Linked DNA regions of Homo sapiens: region 1 is linked to region 2. Evidence: promoter capture Hi-C in 16 types of primary human blood cells and fetal thymus (Javierre and others, 2016). All regions are on one chromosome and are shown on one strand. Each heading gives the region's core, a stretch centred on a gene start or on the middle of the fragment in contact. The rest is flanking DNA. Distances are from core to core; before and after follow the strand shown.

The links. The method cuts DNA at HindIII sites, captures the fragments that hold promoters and counts their contacts. A CHiCAGO score of 5 or more calls a contact.
Region 1: the fragment with the promoter of RHOC here is called in contact with the fragment with the promoter of SIKE1 in region 2 in 1 of 17 cell types (total CD8 T cells); the score reaches 5.4 in total CD8 T cells.

Annotation. Positions count from the first base shown.
Region 1 is chr1:112,702,836-112,708,707 of GRCh38, reverse strand. It overlaps RHOC (ras homolog family member C), which reads left to right and starts at 1,581. Exons shown (of 6, transcript NM_175744.5): 1 at 1,581-1,630; 2 at 3,540-3,608; 3 at 4,902-5,064; 4 at 5,589-5,709. The coding sequence starts at 4,909. RefSeq lists a silencer at 1,142-1,861 and enhancers at 3,121-3,170, 3,918-4,472. The HindIII fragment of the contact is 12,151 bases long and covers 1-4,556 here.
Region 2 is chr1:114,777,373-114,783,118 of GRCh38, reverse strand. It overlaps SIKE1 (suppressor of IKBKE 1), which reads left to right and starts at 2,434. Exons shown (of 5, transcript NM_025073.3): 1 at 2,434-2,670; 2 at 2,904-3,009; 3 at 3,835-3,977. The coding sequence starts at 2,512. RefSeq lists enhancers at 2,052-2,171, 2,412-2,651, 2,116-2,681, 2,682-3,248. The HindIII fragment of the contact is 3,666 bases long and covers 1,311-4,976 here.

The DNA of each region.
Region 1 (5,872 bases), core at 332-2,831, 2.1 Mb after region 2:
TGTTGTTCAGGACTGGGTATCGCACAGCCCACACATGCCCACACTACAGCAATGACCTCCGGTATTGTAACTGTCTACATTAGGAGTCAGTAGGGAGTAGGAATTAAGAACAGGGGCTCTAGAGTTCAGCTGTTTGGGTTCTAGTGTCAGACCCAGCACTAGCTCTGTAACCTCTCTGAACCTCAATTTGCTTCTCAGTAAAATGGAGATAGCTACCTCATGGGATTCTTGTAGTTAATGTATGTGGACCCAGGTCCATGTAATATGGATTCAATAAATGTTAGCTATCTTGAAATTGCATTCCTCATTTAGACTCTAAGTTGTTTGAAGGCAGAAATGGATCTTCCGAACATAGCTCTCAGTTCACCCTCGAGAAATGTTCATTGAGTCAGTTAAGAGGCCTGGGGCCAAACTGCTGCGGACCTGTTTTCACATTTGTCAAATGTCTGGATTGCACTTCAGATATTTAAAGTCTGTATGACTCCTAACATTCATTCATTCATCAAATATTTGTTGACAACCTATTATGTGCCACTCACTCTGCTAGACAACGGGGGAAGGGACAGGCTGGAGGAGCCCGTGAGGTAGCAGGGCCAGACCACCAGTTTGGAGCCAGACAGGCCCGGCTGTGTGAATTCTTGCTGTCACAAGTCAAAAACAGTTGTGTAAGCCACTTGATTTCTCTGAACCTCAGCTTCTCTATGGGCAAAAGGGGATGGGTATATTTTCCCCAGAGATCTGTGATGAATATTGAAAGGGTTAAGCTGTGTAGTGTCCCAAGCACAAGCCAATGAAATGTTGGTGGACGTCCTCATTCTACTCCCACCTCCTCAGCTCCCTTACAGGGAAAGGAGATACGCGTGTAGGTAAATATCCTATGCGCCAAGTCAGACCTAGGAGTGGGAACAGAATTCACAGCTGGGATCCAGAAGCATTTCTAGGCGCACCCTTTGAGGAGTAGGTAGGAATTGGACTCCTGGAAATTCCAGGCCCAGGGAAGAAAGCGAATTGTGAGGAGGAACGGTGGTCTGGGTCTGAACGGCTCTGAGAGGTCTTCAAGTTTGGGGGATGACGTTGGGCTGTACGATCCTAGGAACAAGAGGGTGGACATCTCCCCCCAACCAACACACCCGCGCCGGGCCCTGGGACCTCCCGGCGGATACCCTTTCCCAGTCCCGCTTCCCGCGAGGTCCCAGGTGCAGCAGGAGCGGGTGGCCGCTTGGCCACAGGAGGGCAGCAGCGGCCCTTCCTGACCCCACCCCGAGCACCTCTTAACTTTCCCGACGCCGGTCCTCCCCTAGGGGATTGAAGGCTGGGCAGAGTCTGAGTCCACCCGGGTCGTGCTCCCCCCGCTCGCCCGGCTCCTCCGCAGTCCAGGAATCTCCCCGTGGCTCTCCCCGACCTGGAGGGGTGGACGCCCCTGGCCCCCAGTCCCCGGCCTGCGGAGGGGGCCGGTGGCTGCGGCCCTGCGCGGGGCCGGGGCGGGCCGAGCCAAGGGCCGCCCCCGGCCGACCCTCCCCCTGCCGGGCCCGCCCTCCCCGCCGCGGCGCTGGAGGAGGGCGGGGCGGGGCCCTGGGGTCAGTCTGAGCCTCCGGCACCGGCCGCGCAGCTGGAGGCGGCGGAGCGGAAGGTACCCTGGGCCGGGGCTGCGGGCGGTGGGGCGTCTTGGGAACTCGTCCCCAGGAGAGCACTTTCCCTTCCTCGCTGGCCCGGAGATCGGGGCCCGTGCGAGGAGGGGCTTCGGCCTGGGCGTGGACCCCGTTCCCTCCAAGCGGAGTCGGCATCCGGGCTGGGCGGTGGTCGGACCGCGTCGGCCCCTCCCCGGGCTGCAGCGAGGGGGCCCGGACCTGCCGGCAGGGGCTCTGGCCTCCTGAGGTCCGAGTCGGAGCCCCTTCCCTTCTCCTCCCAGCTTCCCGGAACCTGCCCCGCCGGGCGAGGGGCGAGGGAACTTCAACTCAGACGCCCCAGCCCCCAGGGTGGGCGGCCGCAGGGGACCTAGAGTGGGATGGGGTGGGAATTCCTCCAGGCCAGGAGGGAGGTATGGCGGGAATAGGGGCGGGATGTGACCATTGGGGCCTGCCACTGCTCGGCAGGGTCTGGACGCCGCCCTGGACGGTTCCTGGAGCCCGCTTGTGTTGAGGATAAGGGAGATGGGGAAGGATCCAACTCTGTGTGTGTGTGTGTGTGTGTGTGTGTGTGTGTGTGTGTGTGTGTGTGTGTGTGTGTGTGTGTGTGTGTGTGTGGTGTGTGTGTGTGTGTGTGTGTGTGTGTGTGTGTAGAGAGAGAGAGAGAGAGAGAAAATGAGATTGAGAATCCTCCTTCTTCATACTCGAACCAAGAAAGAGTATCCTGGGGTTTGGGACTGGGATCCCGAGGCCGAGTCCCGCCCTCACTCTGGTTTTAAAGTTGAGAATGCAGTATCTCTTGGTATCTCCAGAACGGATTCCTTCCCTAGGTGTAGGGTGGGCCGGCAAAGTCAACCGGCCGCTCTGGATCATCTGGGAATTCAAGAGAGCGATTGGAGAGAGGTCTGATGTAGCCACACTGTCTTGTCTTGGGGAAGGCCCCAGAAGTTCCAGGCTCCATTCCAGGCCCTGTGTGGGGCTCAGTTGCCCCTCTTAAGGGGTCAGTGGGACAGTCCCTCTGGGGCTGCCTCTCACAGGGAGTTGTCCATGCCATCTTGGCCTTGGGCCTAGTGTCCTGGCCTGGGCTGCCTGCTGTTCTGGCCCAATCATAGCCTGGAGGGAAAGTCTTCTAATTGGGCTGGAGGCTCCAGGTCCCTTAACGCATGCCTCAACCCCGGGTTTCTGTCCTCTGCCTCCCACCACTCTGGTGCCGTCTGAATTACCCTGCTGGGGGGACAGCAGTGGCATACTCATGCCTAAGTGACTGGCTTTCACCCCAGTAGTGATTGCCCTCCATCAACACTGCCCACCCCAGGTTGGGGCTACCCCAGCCCATCTTTACAAAACAGGGCAAGGTGAACTAATGGAGTGGGTGGAGGAGTTGGAAGAAATCCCAGCGTCAGTCACCGGGATAGAATTCCCAAGGAACCCTCTTTTTGGAGGATGGTTTCCATTTCTGGAGGCGATCTGCCGACAGGGTGAATGCCTTCTTGCTTGTCTTCTGGGGAATCAGAGAGAGTCCGTTTTGTGGTGGGAAGAGTGTGGCTGTGTACTTTGAACTCCTGTAAATTCTCTGACTCATGTCCACAAAACCAACAGTTTTGTGAATGTGTCTGGAGGCAAGGGAAGGGCCACTCAGGATCTATGTTGAAGGGAAGAGGCCTGGGGCTGGAGTATTCGCTTCCTAAAGGGCAGTGTGAGGTGGTGGTGGGGTGTGGGGAGTAGAGGCGTTCAGTCAGCCCAGTTTGACAGGATGTGGGACTGAGAGAAAAAGCTAGGTTTGAGGCTGAGATCAGGTTACCGTCGCTTTCTTAACTGCTCCCTGCCTGGTTGGTGCTGGGACTGGCCCTCATTTGTCTCTTCTTTTGGGGCTCCTCCCAGCCCAGACTCTAGCCCCCTCCCCCTTCCCAACAGCCTTGACTTCATCTCAGCTCCAGAGCCCGCCCTCTCTTCCTGCAGCCTGGGAACTTCAGCCGGCTGGAGGTCAGTTCCCCTCCCCAGGGAAGGAGGAAGTGAGGGAAGCTGCGAAGGTGTGATGAACTGTGCAGATGCTCGCTGTGTGTGCTGGGGGTGGGGGACACATGGAAGCCCGGGAAGCTGACTCCTTGCCCTGAGTCACAGGGAGGGGTGGGCAGGGCATGCGGGTGAGCTGGACTGAGGGAGGAAGGGGCTGTTCCAGAGTGGGTGGAGGTGATTCCCTGGTGGATTCTTCTCAGTCACTGTGCTGTGGTAGATGTGTGGCTCCCTACAGTGTGGTCATTGTCCCCTGCCGGGGGCTGAGTGACCCAGTGTTGCTGGCAGGCCTAGGAGGAAGGGGGGAGGAAGGCAGCCTGCCCAAACTCGAGCTGTGGGCATTGCTGGGACTGAGCCTCCTTTGTATTACTTGGGGCTTTGGGGACCGGGTGGGGTGGACCAGGGAAGCTGGCTGGCTGCTACCCCTGTCCTCTGTCTGGGTTTCCCTGCTTCTGCTCTCCCTCCTGCCCCTGAGGTGACATGTCGAAGAGGCACGACTTTGAGTCACACAGTCCTGCTTTGGGTGCTGTCCCTGCCCCTTATAAGCCACAGCTCTGAATCTGTCTTAACCTCACTGAGCCTTAGTTTCCTGGTTTGTCAAAATGGAAAGTGCACCATCTACCTTCCAGGCATCTGGGTACCGAAGGAGATAATTCCTGCCAAAATGCCCGACAGAGTGCCTGGCACCTAGGGGCTCTATAACTATTCTTCCTTTACCCACCTACCACCTGGTAGCTGGTTCTGCTACTCTGGTCCTAGAGAGGGACTCCTCATTTGTGACTGGACAGGTATGACTTGTGCTGAGGGACAGTCTGTTCTAGATTGGACCTTAGAGATTATTAAACTGTAAATGCATCAAAATCCTGGTAACCAATGAAGTCTGACTCGAAACCCTGATGTGTGAAGTAGATAGAAGCTTGCTCCCTGGACGTCCCGCATCCCTGAGCAGCTCTCTAGCTACCTGGAGTCCCCAGGTTGGCAAGTGGATTAGATTGAAACTCATGTTTTCCAGCTCCCAAGTGGGGTCATCATCTACCTCCCACCACTGTATTCTAACCCATCGAGGGAGACCTGTCCCTGACCCAGAGATTAGGAATTTCAAGCTCTGTTGTCGCACAATTGGTGTTTTGCCAGAACATGCCTGAGCAAGCCCCCTGTCCCTTTGCTAGATGCCTCGGTTTCCAGGGAGGTTTGGGGGCCCTAGAGAAGTGTTTTTGGACTTAATGGCTTTTCCTCAAATCCCCAATACGTCTTTCCTGGCAGCCCCACCATGGCTGCAATCCGAAAGAAGCTGGTGATCGTTGGGGATGGTGCCTGTGGGAAGACCTGCCTCCTCATCGTCTTCAGCAAGGATCAGTTTCCGGAGGTCTACGTCCCTACTGTCTTTGAGAACTATATTGCGGACATTGAGGTGGACGGCAAGCAGGTGAAGGCAGAAATGCCCTTCCCACCCCACCCTGAGACCCCGCCCCCCAGTCACTGAATGACCTAGTATGTCCTTCCCCATTCCTACCCCTGTCTTTGCTTCATTCTCCCTGCTGGAACCAGTAAAAGTTAGGAAGTAAATCTGCAGTCTTAAAAAACCTGGATATACTTTCTGGTTCTCCCACAGACTGGCTCTGTAACCTGGGCCGAGTCCCTTTGCCTCTGGGTTTAAGCTCCCCCACCTGCAAAATGGGGATGATGGTAAGACCTCCCTCAAAGGGTTGTTGTGAGAATTAACCAAAATAATGGTGCTCACAGTGGCAACTCAAGGGTCAAACACGTCTTAGATTTCTTTAACAAACTGACCTAATTTATGTTGTGGGACAGTGATTAATATAATGCCTGGTGCATAGCAGGTGCTCAAATAAAGAAGTTCAGTGAGCCCGAAGGACAGTGGTTTCAGGGGACCTTTGGGTGGCAGGGTTGGGGCCCTCAGGCCAGCTACTCACTGGCCCTGTGTGTCAGGTGGAGCTGGCTCTGTGGGACACAGCAGGGCAGGAAGACTATGATCGACTGCGGCCTCTCTCCTACCCGGACACTGATGTCATCCTCATGTGCTTCTCCATCGACAGCCCTGACAGCCTGGGTGAGGGGATTGGAGGGAGGGGACTGAGAACCCCTTGGAATCAGCCAGAGGTCTCGTGCCTTGGCCTGTCTTCAGTCATCTTCAGAGGTGGGGGTGGGGATGCAGGGGAGCACTCAGGCCCTGTTGGTCTCCTTTACTGTGGTAACTGGCCCTCTGAGGGCAT
Region 2 (5,746 bases), core at 1,185-3,684:
CAAGATTTTAATGTTTTATCAAATAATTCCCATGCTCTCTTTAATGGGTTTTTAATTGCCTAGAAAAACTGAGATTTAAAAGGGTTCAGGTTTTTATGTCCTGGTAACCTTCTCAATTGCCTTTAAAGTCTTTAATTATCAGTTTGGTTAAATGAGTAACTATTATTTTTACAATGAATATTATCTTGTTTTGATCAAATGTTTTGAGGCTTTTAAAATCTTTGACCAATGTCCTCAAAATCAAAATCGTAAATTAAGTCTCTGACTTATTGCTGGGGTTTATCGAAGCTATAAAAATTAATCACTGCAAGGTTGTAAAATATTTTTACAGCTTCCAGTCAGGTCATAGACTCCGGTATCACACCTCCAGCTCCTTGAAAAGGTCCTTATCAGGTGATATTAACTAATCCTTGTGCTTTTAAGTTATAGGGACTTACACATATCTCATCCAAAGAAGGCATCAACTCCTGCCAGTATCTGACACTAAACTGCAATTAACCAAAGCCTCATCGTTAGACTCAGGCAAAGGCGACAAAGTAAACTGCTTTCATGAGACACAGGGACAGTCTTGTGTTCAAAAATATTAAGATTCATTTAACAATTCTGCCTCTATCTGAATTAATATAATTTATTCTGTGCCTTGATACTAAATAATTTAAGTGTTTAGCTACCTATGAACTTCTTTTCCTGTTATTCTCAAAACTAGGCAGGGTTTATGACCTTTGTGTTTGAAATGTTGTTAATTCTTTCTGTTTTGTTTTACCTACAAAAGTTGAAACTCTTCAATCCCGCCATGCCTAGAGACTATAACGTAATGTTGTAAGGGCCAGTATTGAGAGCTAAAATTAGTTCAGACCCTACAAATCAAGGATGACACAGATGCCAAAACAGCTAAACAAAATGCTTGCATTTTGTATAGCTAATTGCAACAAGCCAAGATTACAGCAGCTCAATGCATAGAATTTATAGATAAGTCAATTTTGTAACCCTTGCCTTTTGGTTTTTGCCTCTTAACATTGCTTAAGAGGGGTTTTAAGGTTAATGAGTGCCTGCCCACCTCCTTCCCATCTGACCTAGAACGTTTAATTGGCTGTAACTCTTTTGACTCTAAGTCAGTTGGCCGCAGGAGGGACATGATGGACTCAGGGCAGGTAGCACACCACCCTGGCATTGATATGGGACAAAATTAAAGTTTGGACACTGATACTGTCTCTGGGATACCTTGACCAAAAAAAAAAAAAAAGTGGAATGCTGTTTTGAAGGCATGAGCCTAGCCATTCCCCATCTGCGAGCATTTGATTAGTAAAGCTTTCACCACAGGTCACTTCTCATGTTTTTGGCCTCTAGGCAGCAAGCAGCCAGACGTGAGCCAGTTGCAATAGCAGCATTATTGACAATAGCAAAAGGTGGAAGCAACCCAACTGTCCATCCACGGATGAATGGATAAACAAAACGTGGTATATATATATTATTCAGCCTTAAAAAGGAAGGAAATTCTAACATATGCTACTATATGGATGAAACTCGTGGACATTACACTAAGTGAAATAAGGCAGTTATATAAATACAAATGCTGTATGATTTCACTCATGTCAGGTACCCAGAATAGTCAGATTTGTAGAGACACAAAGTAGAATGGTGGCTGCCAGGAGCTGGGGATAAGGAAGAATGAGGAATTATTGTTTAATGAGTACAGAACTTCAGTACTGCAAGATGAAAGAGTTCTAGAGATGGATGCTGATGGTGGCTGTATAACAATATGAATGTACAACTGAACTGTACACTTATAAATGGCTGAGATATTAAATTTTATGTGTATTTTGCCACAATTTAAAAAAAATTAAATGAAAGTAGGCCAGGCGCGGGGGCTCACACCTGTAATCCCAGCACTTTGGGAGGCCGAGGCGGGCGGATCACTTGAGGTCAGGAGTTCGAAACCGGCCTGGCCAACATGTGAAACCCCGTTTCTACTAAAAATAGAAAAATCAGCCGGCGTGGTGGCGCATGCCTGTAATCCCAGCTACTCGAGAGGCTGAGGCAGGAGAATCGCTTGAACCCTGGAGGCAGAGGTTGCAATGAGCCAAGATCGCGCCACTGCACTCCAGCCTGGACAAGAGCAAGATTCCGTCTCAAAAAAGAAAAAAATAATGAAAATAAAAAGAAACTAACTGTGACTGAAGAACAACCCACATCAATGAAAACCAGTAGGGAAAGGAGACCTTCCCACTGCCCAGCTAATCATAGCCTGACCACCAGGCTGTGGTAACTGGAAACCAACGGCGTGGCAAGTGTAGGTCTGGGGCTCCGCGCAAGGAAGGACTGCAAGGAAGCCGCAGGTTAAAGCGGGTCAACCCGCAAAATAGGCTGCCACTGCGCAGGCGCCCATTGCGCCTACCAAGACACCTTGTAAACGTGCCCGGAAATGACGCCTGTAATGCTGAGACAGACTCCCAGAAGATCTGAGCGAGTCGCGTAGCTGAGCCCGGCAGGGGCTGGGGTGGTGCTGCTGCTATGAGCTGCACCATCGAGAAGATCCTGACAGACGCCAAGACGCTGCTGGAGAGGCTACGGGAGCACGATGCGGCCGCCGAGTCGCTGGTGGATCAGTCGGCGGCGCTGCACCGGCGGGTAGCAGCTATGCGGGAGGCGGGGACAGCGCTTCCGGACCAGGTCAGGCAGAGGGTAGGAGTCCAGTGCTCTCGGATTCTGGGCACTGAAGGGTGGAGAGCGAGGTAAAGTGGGAACTCGGCCTGGAATTTATTCCCGGTCTCAGAGGGCGGCGGTGAGACCATTTTCCTGGGTCGGGGCTGAGAATCCTGCCCTGGAGCCCTAACTTCTGCCTCTTCAGTTGCATCTGCCGCTGTTCTCTTTAAGGCATGCTTAGTCTGTCTCTATTTGTCCAGTATCAAGAGGATGCATCCGATATGAAGGACATGTCCAAATACAAACCTCACATTCTGCTGTCCCAAGAGAACACACAGATTAGAGACTTGCAACAGGAAAACAGAGGTTAGTCAGGCCTTTTCATATCTGGTAATAGTTTAAAGTTATTGCAAAATTGCCCTAAACATTTACAAAAGTGTACATATATTTCCAGGTCAGTACTTTTAGTAGGAGAGTCCTCCTGATCTGGCCCAGTAACAATAAAGTTTGTTAGATTACCCTTTTCAAGGTCATCTGACTAATATTGCAGCAGCTTACCAAAGAGGTGCTGTGTAGAGTTGGTATTATTGCATGGTTTATTTTTAAGCATCCTCAGATGTGTAACAAAAGAGTTCATAGCCTCATGGACTTAAAATTTAATGTTTAAGTATTAATATAAACACTGAAGGTAAGATTTAAGGTTTTGTTTATGTTCTTGTTTGTGCAAGGTGAAGCAGCAGAATTTTATTCTAAGGGTATATATTCTTAGGCTTGATTAGTACATTATTAATGATTGTGGTATTAATAGTTGTTTACCAGAGGGGTTTCACATATATCATTCTACTGTATTCTCATATCTTCATTTTTATCTACCACAATGCAGTTAAGAAATAGGCTCAGAAGAAGCTAAATGATTTACTTATGAGTATTAACCAAGCAAGTTACAGAACTGAACTCAAACACATGTCTTCTGATGATACATCCATTGTTGTTTCTGCAAGACTTTGCTTCTCTGCCTAGAAAGTTACCTTTCACATAGACTTTAACTGTTCAGTTTTGCGGACTTAAACATTGATTTACAACTTTAGATTCATATTATCTATATAGTGTTACAAAATTCCAACTGTTAAGACTTTGGATTTGGGAACTGTCTCTCAGACATCACTGCCAAGTTCTTTTATTTTTTGACAGAGCTATGGATTTCCTTGGAGGAACACCAGGATGCTTTGGAACTTATCATGAGCAAATATCGGAAACAGATGTTACAGTTAATGGTTGCTAAAAAAGCGGTGGATGCTGAACCAGTCCTGAAAGCTCACCAGTCTCACTCTGCAGTAAGAAACTTTGAATAAATTCGAAATGAACCAAATTGAAATCTTGAGATTGTTTTAGATTGTGTGCTTGTTTTTTTGCTTTGTGAGATAGGGTCTGGCTCTTGTCGACCAGGCCGTGGTGTAATGGCACGATCTCGGCTCACTGCAACCTCTGCCTCCTGGGCTCAAGCCATCGTCTCACCTCTGCCTCCGGAGCAGCTGGGACTACAGGTGCACACCACCACGCCCTGTTAATTTTTGTGGGGTTGTTTGTTTGTTTGTTTGTTTGTTTGTTTTTTGGTAGAGATGACATTTCGCCATGTTGCCCAGGCTGGTCTGAAACTCCTGGGCTCAAGCGATCCACCCACGTTAGCCTTCCAAAGTGCTGGGATTATAGGCATGAACCACTGCGCCTGGCCATGTGTGCTTGTTTTTGAAGAAAAGTAAGCTCATTTTCCTTTCATGTTTATCACATTTGTTGTTTATTTTGCCATGGCTTTGTAAAGATATGAATAGAAAGAAGGAGGATAGGGGCTGCTCAGATCCTTTTATTTGAGTGGGACTAAGGTTCCCCCTCCCTCACCAAGATCTCTTTTGAAAATGTTCATTAATTCTTAGCGCTCCCACCAAACATAATGCCAGTTAGTGTTGAAGCTGCCTGGTAAACACTTGGTTGGTTATTACTTATACATTTAACTTAAGCTCCTTGCTTGTAAGGCGCATGAATTCACATTTTATTCCTAACATAGTACCTGACATACAGCAGGCAGTCAGTAAACCTTTTATAAACTGAACCACATAGTATCATACTATGTTGTTAGGGGAGAGAAGTATGGTTTTTTAAAAAAACAAACATGGCATAGTTTCTGTTCTTTGCTAATTTGGGAGACTCAGTAATTGTTCTTATGTTTATAGGTGCTTCATGGTTGTCATTGTACATTCTTGTGTACTGTATCATTTAATTCTAGATGTATAGGGTTGGAGCCTACTACTTCTGTGAGATGTAGTGAAATATAAGCTTCATCTTAAATTCCATTGAATGCATTTTACTGACTTAAAAGTTTTAGGAAACAGATATTTTAAATATTTGAATGGCTTTCATCTGGAAGAGAAAAATAGATTTTCTTCTCGTATGGAGGAAAAAACTTGAACCTTGAAAGAGACAGAGTTTACTCAGATAGATAAACTTTCTAAGTGATATGTCCAAAGATGGAATAAAGCACCTTGGAATGTAGTAAGCTTCCTGCCAGTAAAAGTATTCAAATTTAAGTTAAACAGCCACTTAGAGATAGTATCCAACATCCAATGGGTAGTTAAACTACAATTGATTTTTTTTTTCCATTTCAAATCTTTTTATTGGAGTGTGGACCTACTGGGGGATTGATGCACTGGACATAGATAATTTTCAGAAATGAAAATAACATTGCTTGCATCGAATCAGATTTCACCCACAAAAATGACTAAGGCCTTACCAGAGTTGGCATTGGATGAAACCTTAGTCCTTTATGGAAAGGGAATCATGTGGCCTTCTATTTCTGAAATAGACTAAAGATTACTCATTTATTCTCTGCAATTACAGCCATCAGATCCTTTGAAATCTTGGAAGGCATGAGATGATGACATGAGTGTAACACAAATCCATATTGAAGAGCCCAGTATTTTAAAATTCCCCATGTTCACATACCAAAGGGTTACTTATGAGCTGATGCATATCACAGATAACCATATGATTATCAACTTGATGTCTGGGCAAAGAGCGAAAACAGAAAATGCATTCTACTCTTCACTTC